2 separate regions of the Homo sapiens genome follow, and region 2 is linked to region 1. The links are contacts of gene promoters, found by promoter capture Hi-C in blood cells and fetal thymus (Javierre and others, 2016). All regions are on one chromosome and are shown on one strand. The core of a region is centred on a gene start or on the middle of the fragment in contact, and the rest is flanking DNA. Distances in the headings are between cores, read along the strand shown.

Region 1 (4,931 bases), core at 1,813-4,312:
GCGTTGACTAGTTAGTTGTTAATTGCATGGGCAATGGGGAGCCATTAAAGTCTTGTAAGTAGGGGAGTGACATGGTGGGAAATGAGAGCTGTAGTTCAGGGTAATTAACTTGGCAGTACTATCTGGAATGGATTAGAATGGTTATAAGACTGAAGGCCAGTTATTTAAGAGGTTACTGAGATGGTTTAGGTGAGCAATAATGTCTGGAACTGCATGGATGGCTGCAGAAAGGAGGGGCATATGTCATGTAGGTAGAATTTGTAGCACTTGGCAAGCATGTTAGGATGTGGAGAACTAGGGGCAGGAGCAAAAGAGAGGAGTCAAAGTTAACTTTGAGGTTCCCAGTAATTACCTTAGAGTAGGAGAAAAGTAATGTTACCATCAGGAGAGGAGCCTGGGATTGGCAAGGAGGTAGGGGGCGATGGCTGTGGTGTTGCAAAGAGGAGTTACAAAAAAACTGAAATTAGGCTGATCTCTTCCACAAGCATAGCTTTTCTAAGCCATTTTCAGGGAACTCGGTGCAAAGTAAAATAACCATTTTTAAGCAAACACTGTTGCCCTTTGTCAATGAGCAGAGTCTAAGGAAGGCTCCCATCTCTTCAAATATTTGGAAAATTGGAAAGCCTTAATTAGTAATCCGAAAGGGAGCATGACGGAAGGAAAGAAATATAAACCTAATCACTGTGCTTTTCAGGTTTCAAATGCTTCCCCAATCCAGGTAATTTACACTTTAGTCACAGTGATTGACAGTCAAGGAATGTATCTAACTCACTTTTATTTTTTCCCTTGGGGAAAGCACTTGAGTTCCCAATTGTTTTAAATTGCAGAAGCAGTAATTGTCTTAGAGAGTTAGGAGAAATGGCTTTTTGGAGCTGCGATCTTTTTCTGAAGGGAATATAGAGTCTATTTTAATTGATTCAGGTCATTATGACTATTTTCTAGATGGTCTTTTCAGGGTGACTAAACATCACCTTAGTTAAAGGAGAACAGTAAGAAACTCATTAAAGGTCCAAGGGGAACAGACTTAATAAAAAATGTTAACAAGTTGCTACTGGTACCTAAAAGGAAACCAGGGATACTTTTTAAGTCACTTGCGTCCCAGATAGAATTACTGGTGAAATTTAATGTGACGAGTATTTTTTAAAGTATTCTAAAATAAACATGAGGCAGCCAATGTATTCTGAGATGCTCACTGTCCCAGAGGAAGTTGTTTCTTAAACTGTACACTTTGATATATTTGTTTCCTTAGAAAAGTCAAGTGTAACAAGCTAGGTCAATTGCATCAAGAACATTACTAACAGGCTAACCAATGGTAAATGTTGTGAAGGCTACTCTGGAAATCTGTGCTTTCACGTATGGGGAAACCCACACGTCTGATTTGGGATGGAGGAGACAATTGTGCATTGTTTGTAGGCGCCAACAGACAGGCTAAAGCCAGGGATCCTTGCAGAGACAGGATTAAGGTATCAGGACTGTTCACATCTCATTTACATCACCCCGAAGAGTGGACCACAGGTTTTGCTGATTAGTACACAGACTATGGCAAAGGGCATTGTGTATTTGAAATAAGATCAAGATCAGTAACAGTAACAGAAACTATGTGTGAAATTTGGCATATGGCGGTTCCTCTGAAGGATTAGCTAACTGGGTTTCCCGCACTTACTATTTTTTAAAGCATTTTTCCAAACCAGGAAGTTAGCAAAAGAAAAATGTCCCCCAATTCCCTCCGCCTACCCCACGTTCTGAAGCACATATATTTATGCCACCTTCTGGCCTCTAATAATATTATTTATTGTCAAAATTTTGGATCCTTTTGAAAGGAAGGTGGGGCGTATTTCCACAGTGTCTTCGCAGGCAAAAGAAAGTGGTAGATTGAGTATGAAGGCAGACAAATCAGGCTACTACCATTGGAGTATTTTCCATTCTTTCAATTTGTATTGTTCCTTCATCTTGGAGTTTGCAGTCAAGGTAACGATGATGCAATTATCTGCTTTCCTGGAGTTTTAGGTACCTACTAGGGGATGAATGTATTTCAATGGGAGGAGGGTGTAGAATGATGCCTATAATAATACGAATTATTAGGAGCTGTTAATTATCTGAATGTTATCCGGGCATTAGTAATGCCTCTCCAGTATATCTACCTTTTATGGATGAGACTGTACATTTAATAGGAAAAGTACCAGTGGGAATTGACAATTAGCAGCCACGCTTGAGCTAGATGCAGCGTGGCATGTTTTATCCAGCTTAGATAGTTGTCGACCAAACAGGCCAAAGTTTTCTTCAGTAGAAAATGCCCTGCCAAATGGTTTCTGGATCCTTCGCGGACAAACAGCAAAGGAGCTGAAAGCGACCTCTTTCAACCATGCCAGAAACTGTCCATGGCGCTTCTAGATTCACAAAATCTGTTTTAGACACAGATGTCTTTAACCAAGATTGGAAACCCACTGGCCGTCCCATCCCAAAGTAAAAAGTGCCACGTCCTCCCATCCTCCGCCTTCCTTGGGATGTCAGCCCCGTTCTAATTCCTTTTTAGTTTCTCCTCAGCCCTCGGCAGGGCTGGCAGGGGGCTACCTGCGATTTCCCAACGTGGACGTGGACAATCGGATTTGTCTCTACCCAAGCTGGCAGCGGATGGGGACGAGTTCTGTTCCCGAGAGAGTCTCAGAAGTAGGCACGGAATCATCTCACCGATTTTAATTTCTGTCCCTGGGCTGGGGAGAGGGGAGGATTGGGGCGCGGGAGGCTCTGTTCTCCTCCTCCCCTCTTTTCCCCACCTCCCAAAATTGGCAGCCAGTCTGTGGCTCTCGGTCTGGGGTCTGGAGGGTGGGGAATGTGGGTGTGGGGGCCGGCTGGAGAAGCTCTCGCTAGCGCTGCCTGTGGCCAGACCCGCCTCTTGTCCCCTTTCGGGCGCACACACACGTCCACCCAGACACTCCGCGCGCTCCCTCGCGCTTTTGCTTGCCCGCCCGCCGCCGCCTGCTTTTTCCCTCCTGCTTTCGCCGGTCGCCTTCTCCTTCTTTTTTTTTTTTTTTTTTTTTTTTTTTTTTTTTTTTTTTTTTTGGTACCATAGAGTTGCTCTGAAAACAGAAGATAGAGGGAGTCTCGGAGCTCGCCATCTCCAGCGATCTCTACATTGGGAAAAAACATGGAGTCAGCTCCGGCAGCCCCCGACCCCGCCGCCAGCGAGCCAGGCAGCAGCGGCGCGGACGCGGCCGCCGGCTCCAGGGAGACCCCGCTGAACCAGGAATCCGCCCGCAAGAGCGAGCCGCCTGCCCCGGTGCGCAGACAGAGCTATTCCAGCACCAGCAGAGGTAGGAGGCTGGAGAGGGGCTGGGGAGGGGGCGGCGGGAGCCCGGGCGCGGAGCGGGGGGCGGCCGGGAGCGGGCGCCCGGGGCGCGGGGTCCGGCGGCCGCGCGCGAGCCTGCGGCGGCGCCCCGAGCCCGGAGGACCCCCCTCCCCTCCCCCCTCCGCCCCCCAGAAATGTTGCAAACTTTTGCAGCCCGTTCTCGGCTTGCGGGAGCAGAGTGGGGCGGGGGAGGCGGCGGGAAGGTTGACAGCCGGCGGGCTCACCCCCCTGGCTTTGATTTTTCTGCAAACACTGGAGGAAAGCTGCGTTGCCTCAATTAAATACGCTCCCCCAAAATACGGAGATGCGGGGAGTGGGGGCCCGGGAAAGAAACTTTTAAAGCGGCAGTGTCCTTTTAAGAAGGGGCAAAAAAATCTGTTTATGGCCACCCTCCTTCCGCTTTACCTTTTCTCCTCTTGACAGTTTCGGCCCTGGCTGCCCGAGTCGGGGGTGTGTTTTCGGTCCCTCTCAGATCTGGGCGGGGGGCGGGAGGAGTGAGCGACCTGGGAAGTCCCGGGGGTGGAGAGGGGGCGCTCCGGGGTCTGGGGGCGACGTGGACACCTTCTTTGGAGCACGGCGGTGCGTTTGGGATTTGAAGGAAGGGCCGAAGGAAGCGGGGTGCGGGCGGGCGAGCTGTTCGCCAAGTTGTCTGGCGGGCGCGGCGAGGGGAGATGCGCAAGTTTGCAGACCGGGGGTTCGGAGCCCGGCGCCCAGGCTGGCGGGGGGCGTGTGCGCGCCAACGCGCAGAGGGCGGCGGTCCTGTGGGGCGCTCCACGCGCATCCGGAGGGAGCGTCTACAAAAGCAAGCACCGAAACTTATTTCTGCTCTGGGAATCCTTCCCTCTCGGAGGTTCCAAGCATTTCTGCAGGAACCTGGGGATGGTCAGTGCAAGTTGTATGCTGGTTGGATAGTGCAAGCAATGTTTTCTCCTCCCCTGGCGATTTTTACTCTTCATTTTGGTGTTTGGTCTGTGTCTGCGTGTGTTGGGGGGGATGGGGGGGACTCAGTTGCTCCCTCCTTTCCTAAAGTGAGCTGTTGAGGAAAGCTCACTCTTTCTTGAAGGTATTGGAACCTGATGTGTGTTTTTCTCGAGAGTGGGGGATTATTTATTTGAATGCGCCTGGAGTTTGCAAAGAACAGGAGGAAGCTACAGCTTTAATTACTGTTGTAAATAATGTATAAATCGCGCCTGTCACTCCGGAGGAAGCGTGCTCGCGCGAGCCGCCTGGAGCTGGGGACGGAGAGGATTTCTCCAGCCCCGGCTTGGGTACCGGCCCAGCGCGCCCCCTCCTCTTGCACTCGGCTTCTGGCGGCGGTTGGGGAGGGCTGGGTAGAGGCGAATGGGGGCCCCAGGAACTGCTCCCTTCCTCTCGATGTTGTAGTTGGAGGTAGGAATATGGCTGATCATGTGCTGGCTGTTTTACAGTATCCCCCCCCCCACCTTAGCCACACCCCCTGTCCAGGCGCTTTCCCATTCACGGAATTCGAGTACAGTAAAAGCCATCAGGATGACACACGCGAAAAACATTTAATTAAAGGCGATTTCCAAAGGGTGACCGCGGCGAACCGCGGTTTCAGCGGGAG
Region 2 (4,931 bases), core at 1,202-3,701, 590 kb before region 1:
TTCAAAGGTGTAATAACGTTCAGAAATGACACCGCATTTCCTAATTATGAAATTCTGTCGTTGCCGTTCAGTCTAGAATGACTTGGCTGCAGGGTTTTTTCTTTTCTTTTTTTTTTAAGGTTTAGCATACAGTACGATTATTTTAAAATTGCTTTGGAAGAATGTATTTCATCAGCAAACTACGAGCATGCTTATTACTGAAGTTTGGAGGCAATTTGAGAGGAAGGATAAATTAGCACAGACTCTGGGGGCCTCAAAGCGTGCCCTCCCTCATCCTCCCTGCTCCCTCTCCCCGGAGCTCAGGAAACCTTTCACTCTCGGTGCCTCTACAACTCCTGCCTGCTTCACACACGTCCACCAGTCAAGGTCATTAATGATTTGGGGATGGGGAAGGGCTGATGGGGAAATTCCTGCTTCCCATGAGAACCACGGCACTGCTGAGAGGAAGGATGGAGAAGGGGCAAGAAGTTAACCCAAGAGCTCCCTACAAATCCGGGATCCTGAAAGCCGGTGTGAAGAAGAGCTGCTGTAGATAGCAGAGCCTGCGGGAAACCAAAGGCTTTGCTTGCTCGGGGACACAGATGCCTTCGCGAGAAGTGGGACTGTCGAGTGAGCTGCCAACACTTAAACAGTGGTCAGATGCTGGGTGTGGTGGCTCATGCCTGTAATCTCAGCACTTTGGGAGGCAGAGGCGGAGGATCACTTGAGGTCAGGAGTTTGAGACTAGCCTGGGCAACATAGTGAGACCCCATCTCTACACAAAATTTAAAAATTAGCCAGGCATGGTGGCATGCACCTGTGGTACCAACTACTTGGGAGGCTGAGGCAGGAGGATTGCTTGAGCCTGGGAGGTCGAGGCTTCAGTGAGCCATGACGGTGTCATTGCACTCCAGCCTGGGTGACAGAGTGAGACCCTGTTTCAAAAAAAAAAAAAATCATAGAGGGTGGTTTATAAACAATAGAAATTTATTTCTCACAGCTCTGGGGGCTGGGAGTCCAAGATCAAGGCACCAGCAGATTCAGTGTCTGGTGAGGGCTGCTTTCTGGTTCACAGCAACTTCTCCCACTGTGTCATCCCATGGTAGAAGGGGTGAGGGGCCTCTCTGGGGTCTCTCTTATAAGGGCAGTAATCTCATTCAGGGCTCTGCCATCATGACCTAATCACCTCCCAAAGGCCCCACCTCCAAATACCACCACATTGGGAATTAGGCTTCAGCATTTGAATGTTGGAAGACATGAACATTCAGTCTACGGCAGGAGTGAATTACTGACACGATAGCATGGTGAATCTCAGAAATGCTACATTTAATGCAAGAGGCCAAACAAGGCCATGCTATATGAGTCCACTGATATTACCATTCTAGAATAGGTGAAACTATCTATGGTAAAAAATATCAGAAGCATGGTTGCCTCTGGGGAGGAGAAGATTGATTGGAAGAGGGCATGAGGGAACACTCTGTGGGGATGGAAATGTTCTGTATCCTGATGAGGGTGTTTCTCCATGGGTGTATATGTTTGTCAAAACAAATGAAACTGTGTGCTTTAAAAAAGTATCATGGTGGCCGGGCGCGCTGGCTCATGCCTGTAATCCCAGCACTTTGGGAGGCCGAGGCAGGCAGATCACAAGGTCAGGAGATCGAGACCATCCTGGCTAATACGGTGAAACCCCGTCTCTACCGAAAATACAAAAAATTAGCCGGGCATGGTGGTGGGTGCCTGTACCCCCAGCTACTTGGGAGGATGAGGCAGGAGAATGGCTTGAACCTGGGAGGCGCAGCTTGCAGTGAGCTGAGATCGCGCCACTGCACTCCAGCCTGGGGGACAGAGCGAGACTCCGTCTCAAAAAAAAAAAAAAAATATCATGGTGATTTACCACTGCTGTAGATGAATGAGATGAAGGTAGATAGAAACTCATGGCCAATCGTAGCCACATGTAAGCCTGCAGGTGACTCAGCTCCACAGGAGGGCACCACCTCAAGGGTTTACCCTTTATCTCTGCTAAGAAATTGAGTCACTGCAGCCTTCTATTCCTGCTTAGGGGCCTGCCCTCTTATCCTAGCCACGAGCTAAATATCTAAATACTGCCCCACTCTCAGGGGAGGCAGCCTTGTTTTCTGAGTAATATATTCAACCTAGAGTCCACACCATTCATATCTTGGCGAGAAATGCCTGGCAGAGATTGCATTAAGTCAAATGCTAGAGGACAGAGGCTGATGACGTGTGTGCCTCCCGGGGCTGGTGTGAAGGGAGCCACCTCATTCGTATGAGATGATAGTTCCCAAGGAACGTTTTCTTCTTCCTGTCTGTCTTTCCTCCTTCCTTTCTTTTTTTTTTTTCTTGGTAGCAAAGACCTCTTCACATTGACAAATTATGAATATGCAGAAAAGATGGTATGAGACCACTCTGCGTCTCTGAACTGAGGCCAGTTTAATTCCTAGGACTCTAGTCACTGGTACTTTTCCTGCATTTTCAGCAGCACCTGAAATAGATTTTGCTTCATATGAAATGCAAAACACTGCAGAGTAGAAAGCTCACCCTGGTCTCTGATCCAGGCGAGTGTTCTCAAGCCTGGTGTTCATATTTTTTTCTCCCTTTCTTCAAAATACTGCCTTGCTAAGCCCACAGATGGGGATCATAGGATAAGTAGATGCATAATATATTACCCAAAATATTCCACCAGGCATCTTCTCTTACAGGTCAGGAGGACTTGCAAATGGAGCCTTCTAGGTCACCGCATTTCCATCTGAAGGAAAGTCTCCCTCATAATTAAGATTATGTCAGCATTTCCATTACGGAACCCAGTGGTAAAATCCACTCTGAAGTGCAGCTTGGTTTTAAAGCTCTTCGTCTTGGAGAGAACTCTTTGTCTCTCTGATAATGGTTTGCCTCGCTTTTTACCTTGGAAACTAGAGAAAGAAAAATGCATAGTAAGTCAGGAGTAGGGGGCTATGCTGCCCTGCGAAGCCATCAGTGGGCCTGGCTATTGGTCAAGGAGTTGGGAAGAGGAGGTTCGGGGGCCCCTGCGGTCTCCTGGATGGCAGACCAGTGAGGCAGCAGGAGCCTCTGTGTCCCAGCTGGGGTTCCCCAGGCTGTCCCCTGCTGATCCTCTCTATCGGAATCACCTGGGCAGAGCCTGTTCTGAATGCAGATTCTTGCCCTCCTATGGCACCGTCTACTTGACCCACCCAATCAGAATATCTGGGGCGGGGCCTGGGAATCTGCATGTCCTAACTACCTTTCCCAGATGATTCCTTTTCCCAGGAAACCTGAAGTTGCACGGGTGTAGACTTTGCTGTATTGTTGCTGGTGACCTTGGCCAAATCTCTTTACCTCATTATTATGCCTCAGTTATAAAATAACAGCTAACATGTATTGAGTGCTTACCCTGTGCCAAGCATGTTCTAAGGGTCTCATGAATTAACTCATCTAATTCTCACAGCAGCCCTATGAGGTGGATACTATAATTATCTACACAGAGAGGTTGAATAAGTTGCCCAAATCACACAGCTAGTAGAGCCGTAGCGTGAGCTTTGAAGCCAGCATTCTGGCTCTGCCGTGCCATGCTGCCTCTTGGAGGATAATTATAGTTCTCACTGTCCTGGGCTGTGAAGGGGCAAATGAAGTGGGAGATGTAAAGCTGCTTTGTGGCCTGCATGGTTATTTTTATGGTATTTTTATCTTAGGTTATCTTTATCCAGTTCCCTATTTAAGACTGTCTTGGTCCTTCCCAATCTCCTCTTTTATCCTCTCTTCCCCCTTCCCGGTCCCACGCAAATCTTTGATTTGTGAACAACTAATCTCACTGGCTAATTTACACTCAGGTGTTCATAAATGATGACAGCCTAATGCGATTGTTTTTCTCAGATAACACCCTTTCATTTTAGCTGGAGTTTTAACTCAGAATTTCTAATCTGCAGGCACCAGGGACCCCCTTGCTATCTTCCCCCTTCCCAGCCCTGTGCTCCGTGGGTGTTTCTGAAAGAAGCAAACTTCATTAACTAATTAGGAATCTATTCCATATATACATCTTTATATTTTATAAAATGGGAGATAATCCACCGGTATTATTTCTGGGGCTTTTCTAAAATCTTGAAAATGCCAGGAGACGTCCTCCTCATTACCATCTTAATGGGTTGCCAGGTGTCTGGGGACCTCTTGGAAGAAGCCATTTTCAAAGTCTGTTGTTTGTGGTTGTGGTGGGTATGAGTTTGTGACAGGATGTGTCCTGCCCTGGCTTTGGGTCAGGCTGGTCCAGCTTACCAGGACTTTGTTCCCTAAGGGGTTGCTGAGAGGACGGACTGCTCACAGGGCAGCTGCTGAGGTACAGAACCCACAGGTCGGGGACACGGTCACTGCCAGCTGCCACTCAAGAAAGAAGACGTGGCAGGAAGTTGCTGTGAAAGGTGAGCATATTAGCACGAGAGTCATAGTGTCCTTTTCCCCTCTGCGAAACCGGTCTTGTTCTCTGTTTCATTAATTTATACGTTCTCTGTGCTCGGTATGTGCATCTGTCACGTAGCAGTGGCTGAAAAAGTGCTGAGTGTGGGATGACTTGGTGGCCTGTGGAGTGGTCTGTGTCACCTCCTCCCCTCCCCATCATCCATGCTCCTCCAGCCACACTGGCCTCCTGTGGTTCCTTGAACACAGCAGCCACTTTCCTGCCACGGGCCTTTAGCTGGCCTCCCTTTCTTAGGGAGGGTTTTGGTCCTGGAAGCCTGACATCCTAGGAAGCCCTTCAGTCCTGGGAAAGCAGAGGCAGTTGGTCACCCTACATGTCTCTGGAACACTTTCCTCCAAGATACCAACCAGCAAACTCCATCCCTATCAGCCTTTTGCCAAATCTTCCCTTCTCAGTGAGGCTCACTGCATCCATCCTTAACATTCCCCACCTCCTATTTTGCTTATTTATTGTTTTAATAACACTTGCCACC

The links. Contacts are between HindIII fragments. The CHiCAGO score rates a contact against its expected background, and 5 or more counts as called.
Region 2: a contact is called between a fragment that was not itself captured here and the fragment with the promoter of RORA in region 1, in 1 of 17 cell types (M2 macrophages). The highest score is 5.2, in M2 macrophages.

The regions. Positions count from the first base shown.
Region 1 is chr15:61,227,433-61,232,363 of GRCh38, reverse strand. RORA (RAR related orphan receptor A) reads left to right here and starts at 3,062. Exons shown (of 11, transcript NM_134261.3): 1 at 3,062-3,311. The coding sequence starts at 3,146. The HindIII fragment of the contact is 13,095 bases long and covers 1-4,931 here.
Region 2 is chr15:61,815,228-61,820,158 of GRCh38, reverse strand. No RefSeq gene overlaps it. Among named protein-coding and RNA genes, the nearest start is that of LINC02349, 88 kb to the right of the region's middle. The HindIII fragment of the contact is 5,849 bases long and covers 1-4,931 here.